4 separate regions of the Homo sapiens genome follow, and all the other regions are linked to region 2. The links are contacts of gene promoters, found by promoter capture Hi-C in blood cells and fetal thymus (Javierre and others, 2016). All regions are on one chromosome and are shown on one strand. Each heading gives the region's core, a stretch centred on a gene start or on the middle of the fragment in contact. The rest is flanking DNA. Distances are from core to core; before and after follow the strand shown.

Region 1 (2,700 bases), core at 185-2,684, 120 kb before region 2:
TCAATTCTATCAAAATTTATCATTCATAAATCATAATGAAGCACGTGCATTTTCAGCTGATTCACTGCAGCTCTTTTTTTCTTGGGATAGAAATCATGTCAATAAAAACCATAGTCGGACCATAAAGCATCAAATGGGACCTCAATATCAAATTGGGCTCAATTCTGGAATACAACTAAAACAAGTGGAGATCTATACACAAGTTATAGGTTGGTGTTGGGGGAGGAGTCAGTGGATGGAAAATTGCTTAGAGGAGATATTAAGGCTAGGGAGACCAATGCTAAGTTGACTCAATTGGATTTTTTTTTAAGGCAGGCCTGGAATCAGGTATCACATGAAGGATGATGGGGGAATTAAGGAATTTGGTCAGATATTGAGGGGGAGAGATTCATGATAAACCCAAATCTCTAGAGCAGATTGTCACTAAATGACAGCAGAGCGGCCGAGGAAGACACACAGACACTTCCAGATGAATTTGCAAAGCAGTTTATTGCAGGGTTCACAAGGGACTTCAGCTCAGGAAAGCTGAAGGGGTATGGAGACTGATGAGGACAGTTGCTGATACCCAGAGTACATGGAGGGATGGGATCTTGGCTATGATTGAGGAGCTTGGCAGATGAGTGATGATGAGGACTGCTGATACAGGAGCTTAGATGGTGGTATCCAGGTGAACTGGAACCACAGGATACCGTGGAGAATCCCGTGGATCTCTGTTGTCACATGCAACTACATAGAACCTCCTTCCTGGTCTGTCTGCATACGTGCAGTTTGAAATATTCTGTGCACCTGGATTTATGAGGTCACAGTGGAGTAAAGGCACCCGGAATCTACTCCGATGACAATTGTTGAGAGTTCTGTTATGAGGGCAGCGTATACTTTGGTTACCACAAACATTAACTACATTAGCAAAAGTTGTACGAAGAAAAGTATTTTGGTTTTTGCAACGCCATCGATAATTGTTAATTGCCCGCATTGCAATGGTGCATCGAGGGGGGTTCAGACTGATGTGCTGGATGGCAAACCACTGAGCCCTCGTAAACTGTGGGGGTCTGGCATGGAGTGAGCCCTCCACACCCATAAGCCCCAACAGAAGAAGCAGACAAATTTGGGAAGTGAACAGTTTTGGAACCATGTTTCCTGTAAGAAAAGAAGAGAAGTAACTACTCCCCGATCCGGTCTCGGTTATGACACACTCTATAGTGTCTCAACCCACAGGCCCCTCTGCTGCCACTCTGGGGTCGCATTTCCTTTTCTTCCTGTCCCCAAAGTGTGCCACATCTCCTAAGCACTAACTTCAGCTCACCTCTCCCTCAGGTGCTGCCCTGTCGCTGCCCCTCCTGTCCCAGCTCTGGGGATTGTTGACTTACCCAGTCTCTGAGCTGTGGCTCCTGTGAGAACTGATCCAGCTGGTTGTTCTGGGGTTCAGGGGCAGCTGGTCTCCCCTACTTGGAACTGTTTAAATAAAGCTTCCCTTGGTGGGTCTGGCCATGCAGAAACCCACAGATTGACACATGGTCCACTTGTGCAATCATCCTTTTTATTTGATGACTTGGCTGAGCAACGGATACCCAAGGACAGCCCTGCTGCTCTTTCTGCTATACGGACTCTAATTCCAAGTCATCCTGTGTTAGACAGAGTTTTGCCGGTGGGATCTGGACTCTGGGTGAAAACTATACGCTGCCGGCAGAATGACCACAGATTTTATAACTGTCCTCTGGCAGGCCCCTAAATGACTAAATGACACGAAGGCAGGCATAGTAGTTAGGAGAAATAGAGCCACAGAGGGCTGTTTGCCCAGGAGAAACCCAGCTTCCCTTCCATTTTTAGTAATATCCTTGGTTCTCTCTCACATAAATGCTCTCCATCTCATCCACCACTCTTGCTGGAAACTTGAGCTATTAATTTCTTGGGGCACAAGATTCTGTAGATAATTAAAACAATCTGCTCCATACAATTGAGGAATTTTTTTCTTTACTCCTCTTGCATTGGATCCACTTTCTCTTAAGTCTTGCCCTGATTATTGATTCCACTTTGTGTAAAGTTACATAACCTAAAAACACACCGAGGACAGTTGTAAAATCTGGCAGAGGATGAATGAACATTTGGTGTCATGAAAGATTCCAACCTAGCACTCGGTATTCCTGTGATCTTTTCAGCCTATGGTATTTTCTACAAAACAGTGTGTTCTGGGGTTGTCATTCATCTTCCTGGTAAGTTTCATTTTGTGATATTAACAAGAATATGGTTCTGTATTTACAAATGAACATTTAAGGACAGAGCACTGTATTCCTGAAAGTATAGAGGTCAAGTGTACAGTTTGATACACAAAGCATACATTTATTCTTGGCCCTCAGAGAAACACAGGAAAGTACTTGTAGACATATAATTGTATTACAGTGTGATAGAGGTAATAGCATTTGTGTGAACATGGTGTCATAGGGACACTGCTGGTGAAGGAAATCACTTGGCTTGAGAAATAAGGAAAACTTCAAAAAAAAGTTTATTTCAGCAGGTCCTAAAGGATAAGCAGGGGATTTTCAGGGGATTTAGAGAAGAGATGAGCATTCTGGGCACAGGGGATGATGTGGGGAAATTGTACAGAGGTGAGAAGTGAATTGCAAAGGTAAGGCCTGGGTACTAACAGATGTTAAATCTGGTCTAGCTTTGAGATTAGAAAATGGAAAGTAGACCCTTAAATGA
Region 2 (2,700 bases), core at 199-2,698:
GAGGAGCCAATCACCCTCCAGCTGGCTCCTTTTTACCAGACCAACTCTCAGGAGATCATGTGTCCAAAAGAGAATGATATTTTAAGGTTTATGTCCTTGAAGTGGAAAGGGTTGTCAGATTTTAGGGAAATGTAGAAAATGAGTAACTACTTGGGAAGTGGTTCCTAGGTAGGAAGGCTTCGATTCGCTAAAATGACAGCCTAGCCTGCAATTACTTCTTGCCTGCTTCTCCAATTACTTAATGATGCTTCTCCAATCTTGACTTCCTTATAACACTTTCTCCAAAGCCTGAGTGGAACGTATGTTCATTACTAACTACCCATATTCCTTCTCAGGGGTCATTCCCCTAATTATCACTATTACAAATGATCTTGGTTTGTCAGAGCTGCTCCTTGAAAATGTCATCATAAAATAACTCCAGTTTTGAGGTTTTTATTTGTTTATTTATTTTTGAGACAGAGTCTCACTGTGTCACCCAGGCTGGAGTGCAGTGGCACAGTCTTGGCTCACTGCAACCTTCACCTCCAGGGTTCAATAGATTCTCTGTCTCAGCCTCCCACGTAGCTGAGATTATAGGTGCCTGCCACCACACACAGCTAATTTTTGTATTTTTTTTAGTAGAGACAATGTTTCGCCATGTTGGCCAGGCTAGTATCAAAATCCTGGCCTCAAGTAATCTACCCACCTCGGTTTCCCAAAGTGCTGGGATTCTCAGGCATGAGCCACTACACCCAACCAGAATTCCAGATTTGAAATATTCCTGTAATCAATCAAGCACCAAGACTAAAAGAGCCCCCACAGTGGCTTCTGTGGTGATAGCATGGAGTGTGGGGATCTTTTTGAAAGAGTCTACCGTTTAAACTAGTGCTCTGTCCTCATTTACCATGAGAAGTGTTCCCGCCCTTACTGAATCTCTAACCTGATTCACAACTCTGAGCATTGGTGTCCTCAGATGGACTTAATAATAGCTCCCTACAGACCTGCAAGTGTCTAATGAGACGCATGTATTTGAGAGCACTTCTAATGATGTCAAATGTCCACATCAGACACAGAACAAAGGGTCGGTACTTCCTATCTGTGGAACCCTGTCCTGATGATAAAGACCTACAGAGGATAGAAGAGCAGGATGTAAGCGGTTTTAATGCATTGTGTTTGAGAAGACTGGGGGTGAAGGAAGGGAGGGGCAGGGAAAGCCTGTATCAGTGGGACTGAGGCTGACCAGAATTCACACCTTTGTTTTCCATGATTTGGATCCTTCTCCATTGTTTGCTATCTAAAAGTTCAATCAGCCTCCTTTCAGTGCTCCTGGCTGTCCCCCAAACATCCTCAGCAGAGCCCTTCTTACCCTACTCAGACTCCAAGTTCAGGTCACTGGTTGTAGTTGGGATCAGTGTGTGGATCTGAAGAGCAGAGTCTGAGTCCTCCTTTCCTCAGGGCCCTGGAAATCTGCAGCAGTGGAGAAAGGAATAGCAGGGGGAGCTGCAAGGCTCCAGCTGATTGGTAGTGGAGGTGGTGATGGGGAATAGCCTTATTATGTGAACTTGTTCCTGTATCTTCTCATCTGGAACACTTGAGTTTATTCAGACAGTGGCCTCAAGCAAAGGCTACAAACATCAAAGGCTGACTCCAGGGCACAGAAGAAGTGCAAGACCCTAGAGTGAGGTGACCCCAGAAAGGGGTTATCTGGTGCTATCAGTAGACAACGAGAGACCTGGCTTCTGCACTCAATTTCTGACAAAGTTCTGGGAAGTCCCTGGAGGGTTATGCTATGTTACACAGAAACTTCTCTGAAGAAAGCCACTTATAACATTGTGAACTGTGGGACTTTCGTTGAGAGGTGAAAGAGTATCTAGTGAAACTGGTGGCCAGATAGTTATGATTAGGTAGCCAGTATCTGAAGTTTTACTAGGCAGTTTGTTATTGTCGATGAAACGAGTCAGCTGGGTGTGGTGGCTCACGCCTGTAATCCCAGCACTTTGGGAGGCCAAGGCGGGAGGATCACCTGAGGTCAGGAGTTCAAGACCTACCTGGCCGAGGTGGTGAAACCCCATCTCTACTAAAAATACAAAAATTAGCTGGGCGTGGTGGTGGGCACCTGTAATCCCAGCTACTTGGGAGGCCGAGGCAGGTGAATCGCTTGAACCTGGGAGGCAGAGGTTGCAGTGAGCCGAGATCACGCCATTGCACTCCAGCCTGGGCAACAGGAGCAAAACACCATTTCAAAACAAAAGAAAAGAAAAAAAAAAGAGTCAAACTCTGTAAAATATTTGAAGAGATTTATTCTGAGCCAAATATGAGTGACCATGGCCTATGACACAGCTCTCAGGAGGTCCTGAGGACATGTGCCCAAGGTGGTTGGAGCACAGCTGGTTTTATACATTTTAGAGAGGCATGAAACATCAATCAAATACATTTAAGAAATACATTGGTTTGGTCCAGCAAGGCGGGACAACTCAAAGCTGATGGGGAGTGGAGGGCCTCCAGGCCATAGGTGTATTTAAACATTTTCTGGTTGACAACTAGTTTTGTCTAAAGACCTGAGATTGATAGAAAGGGAATATTCAGGTTAAAATAAAGATGGTAGAGACCAATTCTTTCGAAGTCTTATAGTGGCTGCCCTTAGAGACAATAGATGACAAATGTTTCCCTTTCAGATCTTAATTAATATCTTTAGGATTGGAAGGTCTGGAAGAAAAATAT
Region 3 (2,756 bases), core at 188-2,687, 100 kb before region 2:
CCTGGACCTTTGACCCTGCAGAGCCTAGAGTTACAGAAATGAAAGCACAACATATCTGAGTGGGTCAATCAGAGAGATGGTAAGTGGAGCTACTCCTGCTTCTACTTCTCGGTTCCTGGATCCGTGTATTCTTCCTATTGGGAACACAGTACCCTTTACAGGCCTCTGATTTAATAAATACACTGCATCCTGAAGAATGATACCCCATACTTTCATAATGTTACCTCTTAGCTGCTGCTTCAGCTGTGTCTTTGGAAAGTCAGTTTCTCTTCTTTCCTCCCTCCCTCCTTTCTTTCTTCTACCCTCCTTTCTTCTTTTCTCTCTTTTCCGTTCCTTCCTTTCCTCATTTCTCTTTCTCTTTCTTCCTCCCTCCCTCCCTTCCTTTCTTTCCTTGAGCTGAAATGGCTTGCACCTTCCTTTTCCCACATAAACACCAATGGACTCTTCCCATTAGTCCTCTAGTTTCTTCCAGAGGTAGGTGAAATTATTGAAGAGACTTCAGCAGAAATTAGGGAAGATCTTCTGAACTGTGATTAAATGGAGTGTGGTCGTTTACCTAATTATCCTTGGTTATCACCTTCTGTGATTGTGATTTTACTTATTAAGCAGCAGAGCCATCTGGCGAAGACCTGCATTACTTTTTAATCTTATGCTTGCCTTTTGTCTTTCCCAGATTTGATAAATGGTTGGTCCTTATGATCCACTGATGCAGACTACTTGGGAGGTCCCAATGTCCTGGTGCCCAAAGGCAAGATCATTTTTCCCCCTGCAGTGTTTCTGTCTATCATGATGATGTGAGTGGGCTCTTATTGGGGGTGCCTAATGCTGCCATAAAGAAAGAGTTTTCTTGGCTTGGTGCAGTGGCTCACGCCTGTAATCCCAACACTTTGGGAGGCTGAGGCAGGCGGATCACGAGGTCAAGAGATCAAGACCAACCTGGCCAACATGGTGAAATCCTGTCTCTACTAAAAATATAAAAATTAGCTGGGCGTGGTGGCGTGCACCTGTTGTCCCAGCTACTCGGGAGGCTGAGACAGGAGAATTGCTTGAACCCGGGAAGTGGAGGTTGCAGTGAGCCGAGACTGCGCCACTGCACTCCAGCCTGGCGACAGAGCAAGACTCCATCTCAAAGAAAAAAAAAAGAAAAGGTTTTATCTTCTGAATTAAGCTGTATCCCTCTGAGCTAGTCAGGGAAATAGGCAATCTTTTTTTCTATGGCTCATAGATACTGGTATCACTGGTTATCACTTGTGATAAGTAAGCAACATCCTTCCTTCATAGATTTATAGCTCAGTGTTTGGCATATGCCCTATAATTATTATCACAAGCAAGGTGTGCAGAGGCAAAGTTTTCTAGGATACAAGCACCTGTCTGTTTTGTTCACCTCTCCCTATATGGCACTTAGCATAGTGCTTGTCATATCAAAGGCACTCAGAAATGTTAATTAAGTAAATATTAGTGATGGAAGAATGTCTTTCTATTGTCTTCACATATGAATAAAAAGGGGGCCAGGGGCAGTGGTTCATGCCTGTAATCCCAGCACTTTGAGAGGGTGAGGTGAGTGGATCACTTAAGTCCAGGAATTTGGGACCAGTCTGGGCAACATGGTGAAACCCCATCTCTACAAAAAATACAAAAATTAGCCGGGCGTAGTGGCACACGCCTGTAGTCCCGACTACTCAGGAGGGTGAGGTGGGAGGATCGCTTGAGCCTAGGAGGTGGAGGTCACAGTGAGCCGAGGTTGGGCTGCTGCACTCCAGCCTGGGAGACAGAGCCAGACCCTGTCTCAAAAAAAAAAAAAGTTAACTAGATAAAACATCCTTTGTTTCTGGATGTCCAAAGAGTTGTTTTTATTGTTTCACTGAAATGTCATGGATTAATATAGTCTGTATTCCTGTATTAGTAGCCTGCTATTACTACACAAAAACATTCGAATGCCTTCTCTTTTGCTGTATTTTAGACATTTTTCAAAAGCCTAGGTTTCTGTGTTGCTTTTGCTTATGCTGAGACTCGGTGATCTCCACCTGTTTCTAAAACCAGCTCCCTATCTCCTGCTGAAGAATGTTCCTTTTGTTCTTTGACTTTTGATTCTGTGTCTTGTGTTTTAAGGTTCAGTTTAGGAATCTCAGTATACTTTAGGTTGATTCCCTGGAATTCAAGTGAGATGCATTTTTTTCTTTTTTTGAGAAATTAATTAACAATTTATGCTAATGTGTGGATGTTTAAGTTCCTGGCATTTGACTGAGCTTTGTAATGTGTACTTTCTACACTGTGGAAAGAAGGAGTTCTAAAAATATATATATAGCCAGGTGCAGTGGCTCACGCCTCTAATCCCAGCACTTTGGGAGGCCGAGGCGGGTGGATCATTTGAGGTCAAGGGTTTGAGACCAGCCTGGCCAACATGGTGAAACCCCGTCTGTACTAAAAATACAAAAATAAGCCAGGCATGGTGGCAGGTGCCTGTAATCCCAGCTACTCGGGAGGCTGAGGCAGGAGAATCGCTTGAACCCAGGAGGTGGATGTTGCAGTGACCTGAGACTGTGCCATTGCACTCCAGCCTGGGCAACAAGAGTAAAACTCCATCTCAAAAAGAAAAAATATATATATTCTCAGAAAGAAAATATATCTATCTATCTATATAGATAGATAGATAGATTTCAAAATATGAATTTTTTTTTCCTATCAAGATAGAAGATCCTGTTAATAAATTTGGAGAACAATTAGATATTCAACAAGTAGACATTGTGCATTTCTAC
Region 4 (2,700 bases), core at 194-2,693, 84 kb before region 2:
ATTTTTAGTGGAGATGGGGTTTCCCTATGTTGCCCAGGCTGGTCTTGAACTCCTAGACTCAAGTGATCCTCCCACCTCAGCCTCCCTAAGTGCTGGGATTATAAGCATGAGCCACTGCACCCGGCCAAAAATAACGTGAAAAATTATTTTAGTTCTCTTTCACTCAGATAAAGCATGAAAGCTGATTACTTTTCTTCTTCTGATAAAGGTCTCTATGCTTCTTCCGAGAGAGAGATTTTGGAACAATGGGAAGAGTCTGAATTGAGTCTTTCTGTCCTCGATCATGACCTGAGCAGTCTGTTCACATCAAGAGCACACAGTCTGTCCTCTTGGGGTGCATTGCGCACCGTGTGAAGGCTGCCTAACTGTGTGAGAGCTTGTTCTCCAGATGGGTTAACTGAACCCTCTCAATCTCACAGACTGTGCACATGTCCCTAATTAGTAGCAAGGCTTCCTTCTCCGTTCTCCACCCTTGGAGAACCCTGGAACTGCCCCTACCCCACTCTAACTCCTCTTGTCTACAGCAATGGCTTTAATCTCCTGAGGTCACCCATCACTACCTCCCTTTAATGTACATTCCAGTCACAAATATGGGATAGGGCGAGGTGTGTGGCTCTCATGCAAAAAGCCCACAGGTACAAACAAGGACAGACCTGCAGAAGTCTTTCTTCTGACACCTACATTCTCTCAGTCGTGTACCATATTAGGACCTTGCCAACAGTTCTCTGTCACCTGGTGAATGCCTACTCATATTTCAAGCCTGAATTTAAGTATCAACTACTCCAGAGCCTACCTTGGAAAAATTCCTATTCTTTCTTTTATGTTCCTTGCACATTTAAAACTTGTTATTTATAGTTTGGTTCCCCACATAGAACTGTAAGTCCCTTGAGGACAGGGACCACGTCTTATTTATCTTTGTATACTGACAGTGCGTTGCAGGTGCTTAATAAATAATTGTCAAATAAATGAATTACAGTGAACATCTATCGTAGGAAGGTCTACAAGGTAAAAAGAAGCATAAAGCAACATTCCCTTTACCAGTTTGCTTTCGGTTTAGGTGGAGAGATATGATATGTTTATAGAGAGAGACAACTGAGAGTGCAGGCTGTAAAAGCACAAAGTCAGCAGTGTAGAAACAGATTCTGTGAGTTCAGAGAAGGACTAGCTCACCCAGGGCTGAAATGTTTGGGCAAGTCTTCTGGGTGGTCATGAGTGGTTAGGTGAAATTTGGAGGTGGGTAGGACTTGCATAGGTGGGAAGAGGCACCCCAGGCAGTAGGAATGGCAAATGTGATTCAAAAGGAAAATTCAGACGATAGTAAATAGACAAATTTGGCTAGAGTATTACATTTAACATTGATGTAATAATTTTATCAAATGTACTGTTTGTGTTCAAATTTGTTAGTTGACCCACAATCTTTTTTGAAGTATACTTTCTCCCCCCAGTGCAGGCTCCAGGCTAGCGTCAGGATGCAGTTAACTGCCAAAACTCTTTAGCTACCTTTAACCTGAATCATTTCCACAGCCTTTCCGTGTCTTTTTGGTCTTCAACATTTTTAAAGAAATCACAAAAGAGAAGACCTTTTTATCCCACCTTTTTGAGAGATTTTATCTTTTAGAGTAGTTTCAGGTTCACAGCCCCCCAACAAGCACAGCCTCCCCCATTATCGACATCCCCCCACCAGAGTGATACAGTTGTTACAACCGAGAAGCCTGCATTGATACAGTATTATCACCCAAAGTCTGTAGTTTATATTAGGGTTCACTCTTGGTCATGTACATTCTGTGGGTTTTGGCAAATGTATAATGACATGCATCCACCATTATAATATCATGCAGAATAGTTTCACTGCTCAAAAATTTTCTGTGTTTGCCTATTTGTCTCTCCCTTCCTCCTTAACCCCTGGCAACTACTGATCTATTTACCATTTTCATAGTTTTGCCTTTTCCAGAATGTCATATAGTTGGAATCATACAGTACATAAAGTATGTAGTAGCAGCTACATACAGTAGTAGCCTTTTCAGAATAGCTTCTTTTACTTAATAATATTCATTTAAGGTCCCGCTATGTCTTGTCATGACTTGAGAGCTCATTTCATTTTAGTGCTGAATAATATTCCATTATTTGGATGTACCACAGTAATTTATCTATTCAGCTCCTGAGGGACGCCTTGGTTGCTTCTAAACTTTGACAGTTATGCATAAAGCTGTTATGAACATCCATGTGCAGGTGTTTGTGTGGACATAAGTTTTTAACTCATTTGTGCAAATACCAAGGAGAGTGACAGCTGGATTATGTGTTAAGAGTGTGTTTAGTTATTTTTTTTTTATTTTTTTTGAGATGGAGTTTTGCTCTTGTTGCCCAGGCTGGGGTGTAATGGCACAATCTCGGCTCACTGCAACCTCTACCTCCTGGATTCAAGAGATTCTCCTGCCTCAGCCTCCCAAGTAGCTGGGATTACAGGCATGTGCCACCACACCCAGCTAATTTTTTGTATTTAGTAGAGACGGGGTTACACCATGTTGATCGGGCTGGTCTTAAACTCCCGACCTCAGGTGATCCACCTGCCTCAGGCTCCCAAAGTACTGGGATTACAGGTGTGAGCCACCGTGCCTGGCCTGAGTGTGTTTAGTTTTATAAGACACCTCCTTTTTTAACATTCTTCATTTTGGGTTTGTCTGATGCTTCCTTATGATTAAA

Evidence for each region. Contacts are between HindIII fragments. The CHiCAGO score rates a contact against its expected background, and 5 or more counts as called.
Region 1: the fragment with the promoter of RNASE3 here is called in contact with the fragment with the promoter of EDDM3B in region 2 in 2 of 17 cell types (naive B cells and total B cells); the score reaches 5.8 in naive B cells.
Region 3: a contact is called between a fragment that was not itself captured here and the fragment with the promoter of EDDM3B in region 2, in 10 of 17 cell types (M1 macrophages, total B cells, M2 macrophages and 7 more). The highest score is 11.0, in M1 macrophages.
Region 4: a contact is called between a fragment that was not itself captured here and the fragment with the promoter of EDDM3B in region 2, in 6 of 17 cell types (M2 macrophages, M0 macrophages, M1 macrophages and 3 more). The highest score is 10.4, in M2 macrophages.

Annotation. Positions count from the first base shown.
Region 1 is chr14:20,890,119-20,892,818 of GRCh38, reverse strand. It overlaps RNASE3 (ribonuclease A family member 3), which reads right to left and starts at 1,434. Exons shown (of 2, transcript NM_002935.3): 1 at 1,368-1,434; 2 at 471-1,137. The coding sequence starts at 1,132. The coding sequence ends at 650. All of the region lies in intron 1 of LOC100507513 (a long non-coding RNA gene), which reads left to right. The HindIII fragment of the contact is 4,045 bases long and covers 1-1,468 here.
Region 2 is chr14:20,767,152-20,769,851 of GRCh38, reverse strand. It overlaps EDDM3B (epididymal protein 3B), which reads right to left and starts at 1,448. Exons shown (of 2, transcript NM_022360.5): 1 at 1,346-1,448. All of the region lies in intron 1 of LOC107984671 (a long non-coding RNA gene), which reads left to right. RefSeq lists an enhancer at 1,461-1,740. The HindIII fragment of the contact is 10,803 bases long and covers 1-2,700 here.
Region 3 is chr14:20,868,374-20,871,129 of GRCh38, reverse strand. LOC100507513 (a long non-coding RNA gene) reads left to right here. Exons shown (of 4, transcript XR_110261.4): 4 at 674-895. Among named protein-coding and RNA genes, the nearest start is that of RNASE3, 22 kb to the left of the region's middle. The HindIII fragment of the contact is 5,154 bases long and covers 1-2,756 here.
Region 4 is chr14:20,851,628-20,854,327 of GRCh38, reverse strand. No RefSeq gene overlaps it. Among named protein-coding and RNA genes, the nearest start is that of RNASE3, 38 kb to the left of the region's middle. The HindIII fragment of the contact is 3,390 bases long and covers 1-2,700 here.